4 separate regions of the Homo sapiens genome follow, and regions 1, 3 and 4 are each linked to region 2. The links are contacts of gene promoters, found by promoter capture Hi-C in blood cells and fetal thymus (Javierre and others, 2016). All regions are on one chromosome and are shown on one strand. The core of a region is centred on a gene start or on the middle of the fragment in contact, and the rest is flanking DNA. Distances in the headings are between cores, read along the strand shown.

Region 1 (2,921 bases), core at 131-2,630, 110 kb after region 2:
CCAGCTAGTCAACAAACTCCTACTTCCCCATCAAAACCCAGCTAATATGTCCCTTCTGTTTTCTTTTCAACAACACCATTTATAGATCCTCCAACTGAGCCTTTTTAATAACACTAGTAATGTTATCATTTATTGAGCTCCCATTATCTGCTAGGCAATTTTAAGTATTGATATACTTGTACCTTTTAATGTTCATGGTAATTATGCAATACAAGTATAACTATTTACATTTCTTCCAGATGAGGAAACAACCTCGAGATGTTAGGAAATTTGCCCAAAGTCTCACAACCAGGACATGAAGAAACAGAACTTTCTGACTCCAAAGTTCATACTCTCCCCCTTACACCACATCCCCTTTTCCTTGCACCATTCACTTTGAATTGCAAATACTGCTTGTCACTTGTCACCATCTTCACCCTTGCCCCACAAGCCCTGGCAGGCAGGTGGTGGCTCTGATTTCAGGACTGCCACCCCATTGTCCAGTACAAGGCCTGCTCTCAAGTGGCCAATCCTAAAAGTTGCATAGCAGTGAATTGTTTCATTTACAGGAACACACCTTGGAAAATAAAAGCAATGTGTTCATTCTTTCCCTGCAGATGGGATAGGCCCACTCTCTCCCCCGAAGAGGTGATAAGGGGGCAGGTCTTGTCTCCTTGAGGACTTGCAGATGTTTCCTGAGGCCCTGAGAGCATTTCTGCTTCTGACCTGCCTTGGCTGCCACTGCCAGTTAATGTGAGCTGCTGGGAAAGCCAGCTTCATGGCTCTGCTGCGTGTGGATGCCAACCACTGACTCCAGCCAGCTCTCCTGGAAACTGCCCTGAAATATTAAGGCTAGTAGGGGCCCACCAAGGATGGAGGCTGCATCACCAGCTTGCTGGATTCTCACTGAAGCCCAGCAGGATTTTCATTGCAGAAACTAAGCTTGTTAAGACCTCAAGCTTGGCAGTCAGCTCTAGCTTTGAAAATCTCCTCTACCACTTACTAAATCTGTGGTCTCTGGGCAAGTTTCTCAGCCTTTCTTAGCCTCAGTTCCTTCATCCATAACAGGAAGTAATTGCCTTCTTTTCTAGGTTGTTGATAAAAAGAGATAATGCACATAAAACCCTTCCCATTGAGCCCAGCACAGTGCCTGCATACAACAACTGCACCAAAAGTGATGATAATAATGATCATTGTTATGCAACTATCCATGGCAAATTTTTTCTTGTTTGCAGCTAAGAATCTTGATATGGCTAATATTATTAGTTGGGGGAGCAGAATAGTTTCTTTGGAAGGACAAGTCATTTGGGCTAGATGAGTAGTTTTCCCTAGTCCAGGACCAGTCCTGCCTGAGAAAGTGATCTCCCACCTTTGGGTGTAAACATATGCTGTTCTAGATCCCAATTCCTGGAGTAACCCTGGGAAGGCAGAGGCCTGGTCAAAACAAGACCCGTACTTTCCTGAATGCCAGGAAGCAATTACTTCTGTATCCCAACCACCTAACTCTAGACAGAGCAATTAGCAATTATTAAAATAATTTATTATTTTTTGAAGAAAGTGAATGATAATTTTATAGTGAACAATGTTTAAAAGTTAGAAAGTATTTTCTTAGGGATTATGATACTTACATTACTTAAGCACACAAATACCCACAAAAAAGAACATGGACTTTATTTAAATTTTACATAACTATTTCTTGAACTCTTCCAGTTTTCATCAACAGGGCTGCAGGGAGAAACTGATTGATTTGTGCAGTTTGGGTTTCCAATATTTTCCCTGGACATTCTTTCATATATACTTTTCTATATTTTGACGAATTTCATTTTGTCATTTTTAAGCTTATCATAGTATTCTTTCAAATGGGGGCCAAAGTTTGCTCATCCACCTGTCATTTGGGACCTGGGTAGGCCCCACTTTATGTAATCATGCATAATACTAGCAACCTTTATTTAAAAAAAGATTTATTTATTTACTTATTTTTTGAGACAGTCTCACTCTGTTGCCCAGGCTGGAGTGCAATGGCATCATCTTGGCTCACTACAACCTCTGCCTCCTGGGTTCAAGCAATTTTCCTGCCTCAGCCTTCCGAGTAGGTGGGATTACAGGTGTCCGCCACCACACGTGGCTAAATTTTGTATTTTTAGCAGAGACAGGGTTTTGCCATGTTGGCCAGGCTGGTCTCAAACTCCTGACCTCAGGTGATCTACCCACCTCAGCCTCCCAAAGTGCAGGGATTACAGGCGTGAGCTACCGCTCCTGGCCTGAAACAAGATTTAAAAACAATTTTGGAAATACATCCTTAGGACGAATCACTTAGATGTGGACTTGGGAGCCAAAGGATAGGAATAGATTTTTCTGCTTTTGTTACTAAAGGTTGGATTATCCTGAAGATAGAGAAAACCAGCTCACAGAGATCCTCCATGCACTCACTTCTGGTCTGAAATAGGAAAGAAATACAGAAGCAATGCCAATGAGATGACAAGGCACTCTTTGCAGAGCCAGGCAGCATTTGCTGGAAGGGGCTGGACTTTTCTTTTCCATGGGAACGTTCTCAGCTGATATCCCAGTCCTCTGGCTGTCAGTTTATTCAGGGCTACTCCACCCCCGCCTCAACTGCCTTTGCAGGAATTGCACAGTGGTAGTTGACACAGAGCCGGACGCACTCTAGAACCTCCCATGAATTCCAGAGAGTCAAATGCCTGTGGTGGGCAGGAATAAATGTTCTACTTGAACAAGGTGACATGGCCTGGGAGAGGGAGAACCACACCGACCAGGCAGGGCCCCGCCATCAACCTGCTGATGCAACAGGTACCCCCTCCCCACCTGGATGGCAGATTTCTTAATTTACACAACTATAGATGCATTTATTTGGCTTAGGAATTTGATTCCTTTTTTTTTTTTATACAGTTTCACTCTGTCACCCAGGCTGGAGTGCAGTGGCG
Region 2 (3,113 bases), core at 438-2,937:
CCTTCCTGAGGGAGAAACACAGTATCAACATTAGAATGAACAAAGAATAATGAATCTGGGTGATTGGGACCTCTGTCCACAGTTAGCAACATTCTGATTTCCAGATTTTTTTTGTTAAATGACTTCGGATTTGATGGATAAAAAAATTGTAAAACTAATCCAAAAAGTGGCAGTGGTGATTCTGGGTGTGATTACAAGAAAACAGGAAGGCGTTTATCTCTAAAAGACAAGTGGGGTGTTAGAGTCTTTGTAAAGCAGCAGTGGTTTTATCATTTTGTCACCTGAGGCACTGCCACAAAAAAATGAGGGAAATCCTGTCCTTAGCTTCCTCTAAGCTTTCCAGATTTTTGTCTTTTGCCCCAAAAGTAGGAAGGCATGCACTGCAAAAGATGGGTCATCTCCTTGGCGTTGAAGACCTGTTGAGGCACAAAGCCTCTCTCCAGTTGCTTGGAATACTCGATACCCACTCAGGATTTAAGGGTCCTTCCTCCCCATCAACTTCGTATGTTGCAAAACAGCAGCGATTTTTAAAGTTCTCAAACCATCCCTTGCTCGCATGATACTTATTTGGGTTGTCCTCCCCAGATGTTTCCCATTGGTTCCCTGTAGATGTATTTGGCCTGGTTGCAGAGGGCCTTCCGGGTCAGATGCCGCCCTCTGTCATCTGGCCTTCCACCTAAAAGGTTAACTGGGTCTCCACCTTCACGATGTTTACATTACAGGGGAATACACAGCAGCTTAGAGCAGATGGGCGACCAACTCTCCACGCTGGTCTTTCTTGGTTTCCTGAGGGTAGTGGAGGACAAGAGGGGAAAGCAGGGTCTTGCTCTGTCGCCCAGGCTGGAGTGCAGTGGCACAATCACCGCTCACTGAAGCCTCGACCTCCTAGACTTAGGGGACCCTCCCGCTTCAGCCTCCCGAGTAGCTGGGACTACAGGTGCGTGCCACCACACCGCACTAATTTTTTTCCTTTTTTTTTTTTTTTCTTTTTGGTAGAGACGGGTTTCTCACTATGTTGCCCAGGCTGGTCTCGAACTCCCGGGCTCAAGCGATCCTCCCGCCGCGGCCTCCCAAAGCGCTGGGATTACAGGTACGGCCACTGCGACCAGCTGCTTCTCCTTGGTGGACTGATCAACACCAACAAGGCGGCGCACGTCCCTATTACTCACGCCTTCGTCAGGCTCCTGGAGAATATTCATCCAGTCTTCCAGAGGCATGACGCTCCGCCTCCTCTTGACAGGTGGCTGGCCCAGGATCAAGATTCCCCTCCAGGCCACCGCTCCACCTGGGGAGGCCTCAGCCGCGGCCGTAGCCGCGGTGGCCTCCATAACGGCTGCAGTCGTCCCCGCCTAGAGCCTGGTTTTGGAGCCTCGAGGACGCCGACGAGGCTGTTTAACTTCCCGTGAGTCCCCACCCTCGCCGCTCCGCTGGCCGGGAATTTGGCAAGGCTTTGCCCTACGCGGTAAACACGTAAGCCTACTGGCCTCCGCATTTCCCTGAGCAGCGACCTAGATGACGCCAGACTGAGGGAGCCGCAACCACTGGCTACAGTTGACACGGCCCTAACGGAGGCTTCTCGCGAGGCTTGGCAGCCCCATAGCCATCTCAGGGACAAGGAGGCTGTGATCAGATCTCGCGAGGTTCAGGAAAGCGCCCCGGGAACTGGGCCGCTGGGCCAGCCCCTGCGTCGGGGGGCAAGATGGCAGCCCAGGCTTTGGCGCTGCTGAGAGAGGTAGCGAGGCTGGAAGCGCCGCTGGAGGAGCTACGCGCGCTTCACTCCGTGCTGCAGGCAGTGCCGCTCAACGAGCTTCGCCAGCAAGCGGCGGAGCTGCGCCTCGGCCCGCTCTTCTCCCTGCTTAACGAGAACCATAGGTGAGAGGACCCCGGGGGCTTGAGCCGAGGAGAGGGGCACCCCTAAATATGGACATGAGAGTGGTTGAGGGCAAGAACAGCGCTTTTCCCAGTCACAGGGGAGGTGGAAAGTAGCCGAAATTTGCAGAGAAGGAAGGATCCTGGGTTCAGAGGCAGGAGATGGGGTTCAGGTTCAGCCTCTGAGAGTGCCCCAGGGTGTTTTCTCCCGTCGCCTGGCCTCGCTGCCTCTGAGCAGTGAGGCACTGCCTTCTTCATCAAATAGAAATTAAAGGAGGAAAGCAAAGCTGTCCACTTACAAGGAGCATTCCACATCTCTTTGTACAGGTTCTTGATTTGTTTCCCCTTCTAAAAGGATCCTATCCTGGCAATGTGGCAAGAACCATCAGCATTTTAAATTCACATGCTTTTTCATCCAGTCATTCTTGTTAAAAAAATTTAATGCAAGTATACGCGCACAAAATGTGCAGTTACTTTGTTCTTTCGAACCCGAGGCTGGAATCGCCCCAAAAGCAGCGGCAAGAGAGTTCCCACGAGGGAGTGCTTCAAACCTTCCCGAGATGTGGCTGGTTGGGATGACAGAAAAAGAAGCACTGAATGCCAAGGCGATCAGTCCAAAAGCGTTTAGGGGGAAACCTGCAGAGGGCTGCAGAAATTGTCAAGACGGACACCGGGAGAAAGGTGTTCCTGGGTATGTCCGCAGTGAGGGGGTCAGGGTATGGAGTTCAGATGAGAGTTTAAAGGAATTTGGCTCAGGGTTGAGGCCAGTTTCTTCCAGTGTTTTGGGCAACAACCTAGGTACCTTTATCAGGCCTGTGAATGTTCAAGGCCCCTGGTTTATGGTCAAGCCTGCTAGGGAAACCTGCCGCTGGCTAGGTCAGAGAGCAATCAAGGCACTCTGATTTTCCATCAGGACAGAGAAAGAAAGGGGGCGACTGGAGGACCCTACAACATTATATGCAAGAATATAACATATCGTGTGTGGCACCAGAACACTAGAAACAATCTAAATATCCGTTAACAGAGGATTCCAAATTATGCGCTATTACTCTGTAACACTGTGCAGTTATTTAAGTTATTGAGGTAGATGTATATATATGTATGTGGACATGGAAAGATCTCTGTGTTTTGTTTTGTTTTGTTTTGTTTGTTTGTTTGTTTTCAGACGAGTCTCGCTCTGTCTCCCAGGTTGGAGTGCAGTGGCGCGATCTCGGCTCACTGCAACCTCCGCCTCCCTGATTCAC
Region 3 (2,967 bases), core at 341-2,840, 83 kb after region 2:
ATTTTGACAGCAGAACTTCAGGCAGTAATTGGAGTCCTAATGTCAGTTCTTCCTTATGGAGGCCTTTATTTGGCCTGAGATTTTATTCAACTACTTTATAGATGCTGGGTTTATTCATACTATCGCCAGTTTTTATAAAAATGGAAAACTAGCTCATCCTTTTTGCAAAAGAAAGCAAAGTGGGGAGTCAGAATGAGAAGTGGATAGGGGATAACTAAAACTATTCTTTACTCTCCTTTCATTGCCTTTGAGAGCTAGCTCTTGCACACACTGACTTTGGCTTCCTTAGCGCATAGGTAAGGGAATTGCCTTTCCCTCTTTTGTGAATATTCTCATTTCTGAAAAATTCTAAGTCATGAGAAGATAAGCCCTATCCTTTCTTACAAGGATTGGATTTCTTGGGTGACACTGTGGTGTGGTGGAAGCCAGCGGCTTCTTTCAGGTTCATAAAGGCCATCATAACAACTTCAGGCTTCATGGTGTGGACAGGGATCCAGGAGAGCTGAGTGGATGTGTGAAGTTTCTGATAGATTCTGTCATCATTCCAAAGGAATGTAGTTTCCTCCAGCTCAATCATTTGAAGTAATACACATTGCCAAATCTGACTGTAACCTGACATTTTAGACCTATTGGAGAAATAGGAAGAAAGCCCCTCCAGTGGAAGGACTGGACTTGGAAGAAGTTCTGCAGGAAGGTGCATGCAATTGGATAGCTGTTCATGAGTGAAACGTGGGGAACATTGCTATGAAATTGTAAGGTTTGCACTTCATTTTTCGTAGTTTAAAAATTGCTCTGTTCTGGCTGTTGAAAACACTTGGTGTGAGGTTTGAATGAGGATTATATAATCATTCTAGTATTCATAGGAAAATGATTACTGCTCTCTATTTGTAAAACAAAAGAAATAACTTTCGGAAACAGTATTTTAGACATGAGGAAATTGTTTGTATTAGGCATTTTGATCTAACAGAATCAGCTAAGGATAGTGGATCCTGGCTTTACACATTTCTTTGACCAAACCCAGCTGGCAACTTGAAGTTGTTACTGTGTGGCTTCCAGATTGCCTAGAGGTGAATCCTACCAACATCACTGTTTTTTTTGTTTTGTTTTGTTTTTTTTGTATGTTTTTGAGACAGAGTCTTGCTCTATCCCCAGGCTGGAGTGCAGTGGCGTGATCTCGGCTTACTGCAACCTCAGCCTCCTGGGTTCAAGCGATTCTCCTGCCTCAGCCTCCTGAGTAGCTGAGACTACAGGCGCGTGCCACCACGCCCAGCTATTTTTGTATTTTTAGTAGAGACGAGGTTTCACTATGTTGGCCAGGATGGTCTTGATTTCTTGACCTCGTGTTCTGCCCGCCTCTACCTCCCAAAGTGCCGGGATTACAGGCGTGAGCTGCTGTGCCCGGCCCCAGCATCACTTTTATAGCTTTCTGTGCCTCTTCCTCTGGGCCTTGGTGTATGAAGCCACTTGCCTTTCTCTGTTGGGAAGCGAGCAGAATCAGATTGCTACTCATGATGCAGTCCGGGCAGGGCATACTGTCACCTTTGCCTGTGGACACAGTTGTCAGGATAGGGGAGAAGCCCTTTAGGTCCGTCTTCTTGACACAGCCCTCCTACCTGGTTACGCTGGTGCTTTCGCTTGGTTTAGACAACCAAGACACTTGAGAATTATGCTGTCCTCAGAATGTCTGATGAAAAGAACAGATTCACTTTTTTGACACAATGCCCATTAGCCATCTTTGGCAGTGTTTCTGATCAAAGGTTCCCCATGCCTGCTCTAGGAAAGTAAACTTTTTTCAGAATAAATCCTCAAATGGATTACTGAGTAGTCTTTGCACCATTCCCATCAGCCTAATCAGACTGAATGGTCACGCTCAGTGCAAAAAGCTGTTTTGCTGTTAGGATGTTTCAGTGTTTCTTGTCTTTCCTGGAACAGTTCAGTTGTTTAAATTTAGTAATTCAATCCTGACCAGTGTAAACCCACTTAATTATTGCAGCCTAAAGAATTCAGCTACTTCTACTCTTCATAAATGTGCCCAAGTAAATATGTGTTTTTAATATTCAACCCTGGAAAATTAGTAATTCAGATGATAAAAGCTCATGTTTTGGTGTCTTTGTACTCAGATTGTGAACAGGCATATTTCACTGATTTAGACTTAGTATACTTGATGAGAATGCTCAGGTTGAAGAGATAGTTCTGTCAGCAATCCAACATCTATAGCAATGTGGAAAAAGTAATCAACTCATATTTCACGAATTTGATGTATGTTGTGATTTAGAGGGCATGAGATAAAGTTTATATTTGAACTGTGTGGGGTAGGGGGAAGAAGAGGTTGCTTAAGCAAATAGTGGGGTGATTGTGGAACAAGATGTCTCTAAGATGAGAAGTTATTTTCTTGCATCATAGAAGCACTCTTTTTACCCGTGAGTGATTGTGTTAACTATAAATCATTTATATCTGTACATTAAAGCAGATTCCCTCAATTAGGCAAATTTGGTTAGCCAAGCCCAAGTTATTGTTTGTACTTGAAAGTAATAAAGCTGCATTTCCTTAAAAATATATTCTGTAGTTAAGACTTTGTCTTGCTTTCCCCCCAACCACTTCAGACATTTTATCCAACCAATGCAGGGACTTTTCAAAAGTCAGTGTGTTTTTGAAAATAGAACAACCCCTTGAGTGATCTGAGGTGGCTCTGTTTTTTTACTGTTTCTGCATCTTCTAGAAGGTAAACTCAACAATATAACCATTTCTGAAGGTGATCCAAAAAGCAAAACAATAAAGGTAAAACACAAGGAAATAATTTTGGTGAATTTCATGAATAGTTGCAAATGAAGGGATGGGGTGGGTAAAAGTCCCATTTTGCTTCCAGACCTTGGAATAGTCTTCCTCTCTTTTGCCCAAGGATGTGTCTATCCAGCACATCTTTGCATGAGTTCTTTCTTACTAACTTAAACTTACGGGGCTTCTTGT
Region 4 (2,808 bases), core at 46-2,545, 64 kb after region 2:
CATGAGCCACTGCGCCCGGCCCAACATTTCTTTTTTAATGTAACTATTAGGACATTTTAAATTATATCTGCAGTTTGCATTATATTTTCTGTTGGATAGCACCGTTCTAGACCATTGGCTCTCAAAATATTGCTGATGAGTTAGAATCACCTGGCAAACTTTTAAGATTATTGGACCCTGCCTCAGATGTTCCCCAAGTTAAACTCTCTGAAAATAGGGACCTGCCTGTGTGTTTTGATAAAGTTGTATCACATGGCCATTGAGAACCAACCAAGTCCTACCCCTCTTTTTATACAGAAGGAAACAGTCTAAATAGCAAAGTGACAATAAATACAGTCTTTATTTCAGTATGCTATCATAGTTTTCCCAGGTTAAAATTCATACTCTAGCTCTTTCATAAGTGATGGCTATTTTTCCATTGTCTCAAACAGTGGTTCTTGACTGAAGGTAGAATTGTGGCTGGCTTTAGTCATTTCAGCTTTTTAAAAACTGGTCATTTGGTGCTTTCCTAGGATACTGTGCCATTATCATAGTGACTGTATTTAGTGGATTCTCAAAAATGTCTTTTTATTTGTTGAGGCTTATTGAAGGGTCATTGTAAGAATGAATTAATCATTAGGATTTTAAACTTAAAGCAAAGTCCTGAATTGTCACCATGATTAGTATAGAATTTTCATCAGAGGCAGAAATAAAGCCAACTTTTCCCTTCAGAATCTTAAGAGGCTTTACAAACTTTTTGTTGAGTTGTGAATATCTGGGGATAATTTATCCCAGGTTTTCCTTGAGGTTTCTTCCTTCACGTATTTCAAGATGACTGGAGCAATTAGCAGTTAGCTTTTGCAGAAGTTAGCCCAGGCTCTGAGGTTTGTCCTTGACTTGCCTTAGAGTGGAATATATTTCAGCAAACACCTTTACTATTTAACAATCCTTATTTGTTCAGAACTGTTGGGTAATGGACAAGCATGCAAGTGTAAACATGCAGTCATGTGTAATACCTATTTATTTGAAGTCAAATCAGAGAGCTCGTGATAGCCAAGGATTTATGAAATTTTTCAAGTGGAAGCACCAAGGGATGCTTTTAGTCTAATGACCTTCTGTAGCCTGAAAAGTTAAGGGAAAGTGTCTCACCCAAAAAGCTTGGATTCTGTCCTAGTGCTTTTGACTCCGTTTTGGTGACTCTAAGCAAGTTGTGTTACTCTCTCCGTGCTTTGATTTCTTCAGTGGTAAAGTAAAGTGCTAGAGGAAGGGACCGTTAATGTTCTTGAAGAACACCATGATTTTGGGATTGATTTTCCTTCTTTAGTGTGTTTGTTTTCTTATTAACCTCCCTGTTTTTCTCTTGAAGGGTCAGATGACTTGTCTGCAAAGCTGTGGGATGTGAGCACAGGGCAGTGCGTTTATGGCATCCAGACCCACACTTGTGCAGCGGTGAAGTTTGATGAACAGAAGCTTGTGACAGGCTCCTTTGACAACACTGTGGCTTGCTGGGAATGGAGTTCCGGAGCCAGGACCCAGCACTTTCGGGGGCACACGGGGGCGGGTGGGTTGCCCTTTTTCAAGGGTTTTTACAACTTAGCCTCATCCTTTTAAGCCAGGAGCCAAGAATGTGAAATGCTTTTTTTTTTTTAATTTAACCTGCTTTTTTCAACCCTCTTTCTTAGTCATTGCAGTTATTTCCCTTTATTCTAGTTACTCTTATTTCGAATGTTTTACCCAGTTTTGCTTTTTCTTGCTTTCTTCTATGTGTGTACCCTTCTGGTGGGAAGGGTAGTTTTCATTCTCTCTCTGTTTCTCTCTCTCTCTCTCATTCTCTCTCTCCCCCCTCCTGTTTCATTTATATCCTATTGAACAGACAGTCCCTTGGCTTTTATCAGATTCCATACCTCTGAACTGAGTAAATCCTACTTGTGTAAATTCCACTTTATTTGTAGCATTAGGGCTGAAAGTTCTTTGGTGTGACGGTGGTTCTTAGATTGTGTGGTCTACACAGATTACATCCAGTTTGAGCTTGGTTGACAGTTGATTAAAACAAGCTACCACCTAGAGATAAGGCGAAAGAAACATACCTGAATGTTTCCTAATAAATGTATAGCATCCTTATTTTGCAAAAACTGGTCATTTGAATATAGCCTTGAGATTTGAGCTTCTCTCTCTGTTGCTTTTTTTTTGGCGGGGGCGGGGGTGGGGAGGCTTTGTGTAGAAATTGAGCTATTTCCCAGCCTCTTGTGTTGAGCAGCTCCCTTCCTTTCCCCCATTTACCCACTGCTTTAGCCTCTGAGAATCATAGTCTGTAATGTCAAGCATTACGTTTATGAGCAGCCTTCCAAAACTCCCTTAACAGGTTGCGTCCCTCTATTTCCCAGTAACTTGTATTACTGTAGACCGCTCATCATACAAATATAATCTTGCTTCCCCACCAGACTAAACTCCATAAGGACAGTGATCTTATCTGTCTTGTTCACCCATGTGACTGGAGTTACTTGCACTGTACCTGGTGCTTAGTGATTCTTTGAAGTAAAACTAGCCGTTAGGCTAATAAAAACACGTATTTTTTGCTTCATTTTATTTGTCCTCCTATATACTCTTCTTCAGTCTTTGCTGTCTGCTACCACTTGTTAGAAATTAATATTTGAAGGTGCATGTATGCATGGAAGTATATGTTAAATTGAGTGTTATGTTCCACAATGTTAAGATGTACCATGACTTCCAGGTGATTTTATTCCTGATCAACTTTGAGAACCCTGCTCTAAAAATTTTTATTACTGTTGCCTAGACATTGCTGAGGTTTTTCTTAACTTCATACCTTTA

Evidence for each region. The method cuts DNA at HindIII sites, captures the fragments that hold promoters and counts their contacts. A CHiCAGO score of 5 or more calls a contact.
Region 1: a fragment that was not itself captured here is called in contact with the fragment with the promoter of PSMD5 in region 2 in 1 of 17 cell types (monocytes); the score reaches 5.2 in monocytes.
Region 3: a fragment that was not itself captured here is called in contact with the fragment with the promoter of PSMD5 in region 2 in 5 of 17 cell types (monocytes, activated CD4 T cells, naive CD4 T cells and 2 more); the score reaches 6.4 in monocytes.
Region 4: a contact is called between a fragment that was not itself captured here and the fragment with the promoter of PSMD5 in region 2, in 1 of 17 cell types (naive CD8 T cells). The highest score is 5.1, in naive CD8 T cells.

The regions. Positions count from the first base shown.
Region 1 is chr9:120,733,017-120,735,937 of GRCh38, reverse strand. No RefSeq gene overlaps it. Among named protein-coding and RNA genes, the nearest start is that of MEGF9, 20 kb to the right of the region's middle. The HindIII fragment of the contact is 879 bases long and covers 941-1,819 here.
Region 2 is chr9:120,841,496-120,844,608 of GRCh38, reverse strand. It overlaps PSMD5 (proteasome 26S subunit, non-ATPase 5), which reads left to right and starts at 1,687. Exons shown (of 10, transcript NM_005047.4): 1 at 1,687-1,872. The coding sequence starts at 1,700. It also overlaps the pseudogene CUTALP. RefSeq lists enhancers at 1,116-1,465, 1,424-1,718, 1,484-1,778, 1,666-1,965, 1,537-2,066. The HindIII fragment of the contact is 10,742 bases long and covers 338-3,113 here.
Region 3 is chr9:120,758,786-120,761,752 of GRCh38, reverse strand. FBXW2 (F-box and WD repeat domain containing 2) reads left to right here. Exons shown (of 8, transcript NM_012164.4): 8 at 1-2,967. Among named protein-coding and RNA genes, the nearest start is that of FBXW2, 33 kb to the left of the region's middle. The HindIII fragment of the contact is 8,038 bases long and covers 1-2,967 here.
Region 4 is chr9:120,777,083-120,779,890 of GRCh38, reverse strand. It overlaps FBXW2 (F-box and WD repeat domain containing 2), which reads left to right. Exons shown (of 8, transcript NM_012164.4): 4 at 1,346-1,540. Among named protein-coding and RNA genes, the nearest start is that of FBXW2, 15 kb to the left of the region's middle. The HindIII fragment of the contact is 313 bases long and covers 1,139-1,451 here.